2 separate regions of the Homo sapiens genome follow, and region 2 is linked to region 1. The links are contacts of gene promoters, found by promoter capture Hi-C in blood cells and fetal thymus (Javierre and others, 2016). All regions are on one chromosome and are shown on one strand. Each heading gives the region's core, a stretch centred on a gene start or on the middle of the fragment in contact. The rest is flanking DNA. Distances are from core to core; before and after follow the strand shown.

Evidence for each region. Contacts are between HindIII fragments. The CHiCAGO score rates a contact against its expected background, and 5 or more counts as called.
Region 2: a contact is called between a fragment that was not itself captured here and the fragment with the promoter of NPTN in region 1, in 1 of 17 cell types (neutrophils). The highest score is 6.4, in neutrophils.

What each region holds. Positions count from the first base shown.
Region 1 is chr15:73,632,127-73,634,826 of GRCh38, forward strand. NPTN (neuroplastin) reads right to left here and starts at 1,263. Exons shown (of 9, transcript NM_012428.4): 1 at 999-1,263. The coding sequence starts at 1,089. RefSeq lists silencers at 780-1,039, 1,120-1,419. The HindIII fragment of the contact is 2,824 bases long and covers 1-1,538 here.
Region 2 is chr15:73,268,915-73,271,614 of GRCh38, forward strand. NEO1 (neogenin 1) reads left to right here. Exons shown (of 29, transcript NM_002499.4): 17 at 1,096-1,319; 18 at 1,402-1,540. Among named protein-coding and RNA genes, the nearest start is that of MIR12135, 30 kb to the right of the region's middle. The HindIII fragment of the contact is 4,228 bases long and covers 1-2,700 here.

The sequences.
Region 1 (2,700 bases), core at 13-2,512:
AAGGCCCGACCAATATCATACAGCATTTGCCACATCCCAACTCCTCCCTTCCCTAATTTATCCTCCACACTGCAAACCAACATTACACCCCCGACTTCCTGCATTTTACTCCCTTCCCTTATTTTTCGTCTTCCCCCACCCCCATCTCTATACCCAGGCCTCCTTACTTCTCTAATAAATATTCCCCCACCTCAGTTCCAACCCTTTCCCTCCATCCTCTGCTCATTTTCCTCTCCTTATTTAGAAACTCCTTTTTGCTCTCCCAACCACTACCCTAGAATGCCCAGCACTCCACCCTCTTTAGCAAACCCAGCCCTCTTCCCCCAGCTCATTTGGAGACACTGCTGCTTCTCTCTCCAGGTCCCCTACTGCAGTCAACCCACTCCCTCATCTTCCCACCCACCTTCCCTCTATCCCTAGATCCAAGGTTCCCTGATTCTTTACCCCCTCCTTTGGTCTCTAGTACTCAGCTCACCATTAGTGTTCCTCAGGACTCTCTTCCCCCCAATTTCCCCCTTATTTTTAAGGATGTCACCAGTCCTACGGGGCCTCAGTAGAATCCTGGACGACCCCAGCTCCCGGGGGGCCTGACGGACACCACCATCCCCGTCGCCCGGAACACAAACGCCGGTCTTGTGCCACCCTCCCTAAGAGCTGCGCCCCCTCCTCATCCGCCCCCGCTACTCCAGCTCCCCACGTCGGCTTCCTCCGTGTCCCCTCGCCGACCCGGCACGACGAGCCCCACGACGTGGAGCCTCCGAGTGGGCAACACCTCGGGCTCACCCCGGACGCCCCCGCCGCTCGGATAGGAGCCTCCGGTCCTCACACCCGCGCCTCCTCAAACCCGCAGCCGGTACCTCCTCTCGGACCCGCAGCCCCTCAGACGCCCACTCGGCCCCCTTCCCCGAGCTCCAGCGTCTCCTCAGGCCAGAGCCGGGCCCCCTCCGGCCCCGGCGCCCCTCAACCCCCGCCCGGCCCGCCCCCGGCGCCCCGCTTACCGTTCTGAGCGGCGCCTGGCCCTGGGAGGAGGGAGCCAGAGACCAGCAACAGCGAGAGGGCCAGGGCGCTGGGCAGCGACGAACCCGACATCCTCCCTAGCAGAAGACCCAACAGCGAATGGGCCGGGGCCAGAGCCGGGGCCGGGGAAGGGAGGGGAGGGAGGGAGGGGGCGGGCGAGTGCGCGAGGGAGTGAGCGAGGGAGGCAGCCGCGGCTCGGCTCCGTCCTTCCCCGTCCTCCTCCTGCCGCCGCAGCGCCCAGGCCTCGCGAGACCTTCGCTCCGGGTCGTGGGCGGCTGAGGAGCGACCGCCGCAAGGATCGCGAGAAGAGGCGGCTCCGACGGAGACTCCCGCCCCGCGGACTCGGTGGCCCCGCCCCTGCAGAGGCTGATTGGCCTAGCGCGAGGTAGGTCACGTGCCGAGGGCGCCTCTGGCCATGTGACGGGGCGAGGCGGGACTCCGCTAGCTCTCTGGGCAGTGGGGAGCTGGGAAGTCCTTCAGTTTACTCCTCTGTGGCCCGGGAGCACCCATAAATAAGAGGAAGCTTTGGAACACAGTACATTTCCTCCACCCATCCTGCCTTTCATTTGTTAGCGCTCTTGGCTACAGAGTTTCATACACCGTGCCTCCTTTCCTCCTTCCTCTCTTTGTCCCCGTCCTGCTGTTTCTTCCTTCTGGACTTTGAACATAGACCTCTACTGGTAACTGGCTCCAACCTCCTTCTCTCATCTGCTGTTTTTTCCTTCCAGGAAAAGTGGTGCGCCCCCTGTGCCCCCGTTACCTTGTGCTTTCCTGCCTGGACATCTGCTCCCTTTGCCTGAAATGTCCTCCTTTGCCGCCTCTGCCTACTCCCCCTCCCACCCCACATCTGGGCCTTATTTTAGCTTCATAGACTCTCAGGGCCTGAAGTTCAGCTAGCCTAATTGCATGTTCATTGACACAATTCTACAAGGAAGTCGTGTATGAACTTACATGAAGACTCCTAAGAAGCGTCTTAATGCGGAAAACATTTATTGAGAACGTGCTGTGTGCCAGGCACATAGTGAAACCCACATGAAAAGGTAGTCCCCGTCCTCATGGAGTGCACTGCCTAGGCTAGCAGAGGAGTGAGGAAGGGTCAAATGGCCCCATAGGAAAGGATCTAGCAAAGCACTCTGGAGGGTGATTGGCAGTGTGGTTACTACTGTTTGCATAGAAGTTTGGGAAATGCTCTTTTTAGGGGTATTTTTTGTACTACCCTCAGGGCTTGTGGTTGGCAAAGGAATTTCTATGGCTTAGCTCATCCCTGACTCACAGCAGACGTCCTGGGAGTGTCTGTGGAAACTCTGAGGGGCCAAGTAAACAGTCCTGGTGGCCTGACTTGATTTAAAGAGAGGGTTTGGAGGACCTGGAAGAAGGAGACCCTCGCAATCTCTATCAAGCTAAAGTGGTCTGGAACTTTCAACAGGAACTGAACAGCTGGTGGTTCCAGACCAAAATTTCTAGCAAAGGCCAGGACCACTATGGCATGTTGTTGATTGAAGTGAAAACTATGTCCTTCAAAACCTCAGGTGTGTGAGTGACAAAAAGATTGGCATGTACCTTCATCTGGACAAAGGCCATTCTGCAGACAGCCCAGTAAGGAGGGCTACAGGGCTGCCTGTGGTGGGATCAAGATTTTCAGCTGATGGAAGCTTTGGTTGGATGCAACCATTCTGCCTCATT
Region 2 (2,700 bases), core at 61-2,560, 360 kb before region 1:
ACTTGGAACTGTGATAACCATGGCATTTCCGTTAACTGATGGGAATTCATCACTGGGTTGTTCTCTGACTCTGTGGAAGAAACTATGGTAGATAGTCCAGCATGGTGTCAGCTTACCTTTCCTGAAGGAAGAGTACACCCTTGAGTTCCTTTTGCTTTATTTGGGTGTCAGCTATGTCACTGTACTGCCATTAGACCCAGGACATCAGGAGGTCTGAACTTGACCCTTTGTGGGTATCAGATACCGTCAATACCCATGGCTGACATTCAAGACTCAGGTTTGAGTGTTGGACCCTTACATGAATAGTGATATGCACAGATAACTCTTGTCCCAAAAATTCAGCCACATTCACTGAAATCTCAAACCATGAGGTTTGTATTGCTTGTTTAGAAATTGTACCCCTGATTCTAAAAGCAGTTTTTGTCTTCGTGAGCCTTTTTGGTTTTGGGGTTTTTTTGTTTTCTGAGACAGAGTCTTGCTCTGTCACCCAGGCTGGAGTACAGTGGTGCAATCTCAGCTCACCGCAGCCTCCATCTCCCAGATTCAAGCGATTCTCATGCCTCAGCCTCCCGAGTAGCTGGGACCCCAGGCACCTGCCACCATGCCCAGCTAATTTTTGTATTTTTAGTAGAGACAGGTTTCACCATATTGGCTAGGCTGGTCTTGAACTCCTGACCTCAGGTGATCTGCCCGCCTCTGCCTCCCATAGTGCTGGGATTACAGGCATGAGCCACTGCACCTGGCCTCATGAGGCTTTTTGAACAGGAAGTAGAATTTTCAAGTTATTTTAAGAAAATTCAAGCACGAATACATTAATATAATCACTGGATTATAACATTTTAATATGCCTATAGAATGCAGTAGAGAATATAGTTTATTACTGCTTCTCTTAACATTTTTCTGTAATTTTTTCCTGAAAGAACACAAGTGGAAATAGTCTTTTAAATGAATGGTGGTTATCTATTAACTCTGAATTTTCTTTCTTTTTCTCCATTTCTCACCTTTCATTCCATTATATTACCCTGCATTTCCCTTTTATTTTATTTTTGTTTACATTAAAATGCCACTTCCCTTTTTAAATTATTTTCTGCTCAGACACTTCTGAAGTTGATTTATTTGTTATTAATGCTCCATACACTCCAGTGCCAGATCCCACTCCCATGATGCCACCAGTGGGAGTTCAGGCTTCCATTCTGAGTCATGACACCATCAGGATTACGTGGGCAGACAACTCGCTGCCCAAGCACCAGAAGATTACAGACTCCCGATACTACACCGTCCGATGGAAAACCAACATCCCAGCAAACACCAAGTACAAGGTACTGACACATTTGCCCTGGCTGAAAAAAGCTAATCATTGATACTTTCTAATTTTAAAGTCTCAATTCATGTTTTTTTCAGAATGCAAATGCAACCACTTTGAGTTATTTGGTGACTGGTTTAAAGCCGAATACACTCTATGAATTCTCTGTGATGGTGACCAAAGGTCGAAGATCAAGTACATGGAGTATGACAGCCCATGGGACCACCTTTGAATTAGGTATGTGTTGTCAGAAGCCATGTCACATGGCTGCTTTTACTTCCCAAGGAAAGAATTGAGTGCCTGAATTGACATATTTACAAAACACAGTGAGCAACTACATTTGGAATTCAGTGTTTGCTATTTCAGCTGACAAGTTGTGTGTTTTTAATTACTGAACAAGAACATTAGCAAATAACAGGATACTACAGGGAAAACATGATAAATTACAAAGCACTGGGTAGATGTAAGGGATTATTGCCATTAATCCTGCTTTACTGGTAAACTGAGATAGAAAAGATGAAGTGACCTGCCCTTGACCAGGCAGTTCCAATGCCATGCTTGCTTGGAGCCTGAACACTTTGCTGGGTGACCCCAAAGCTGCCTCTGCAGTTTGCTTGCAAGCAAATTAGCGTCTTATAAAATCTTCCACTGAAATAATCCTTAAGGTCTTTGTAAGTGGACACGAGAGGGAAAAGATGACTAAGCAAATTAAAGAGAGAACAGGCTATCTGGGTTTGAGATTCTGTTTGGTTTTTGCTGACTTTTAGACATGCCTTTCTGCTACCCCCTGGGCTTTCCTAGTCTAGGGATATGCATAACCATTTCAAATCTCTGTCTATTTTGGCCTCCTATTTCTCTCCTATATGAATAATGGAGTTATAAATTCTCCACAAACTGGGCTTGGCCTCAGTGTCTTTTTGTCTTCTGCACAGTTCACTGGACTTTGTACAGAGAGAAGGGTTGGATTTGAAGAGTTAGAAATACAGTACATCAAAGTTTAAATAGACCTTGAGTTTGCTTTCTTTGCCAACCATTTTAAGAAAATGTTTTTACTTCAATCCTAACCCATTAGATAACAAATGAGATTGTGTTTTCCCTTAGGATATTTGCATTTCACCAGGCTTCCTTACATTTTATACTAAGAGAATTCTAGTATTTTAGGAAGAGTTGAGTAAATTTAAGGATGTACTTAATTTGCTCATTTTCCTACTAGTGTGTTAAAAGTTTTCAGCTATCACATGGAAACACAGGAAACGTATTGTCCTGTTGCATAAACGAACAGCTTCACTTTAGAGCTGTAACCTCAATAGTTGGCAGTATGTTTGCAGAATAAACTCATAGTGAAAAATATTAATCTGTAAATCATCTATTCTTTGAAGAAATAGGGCTTTTAAAAG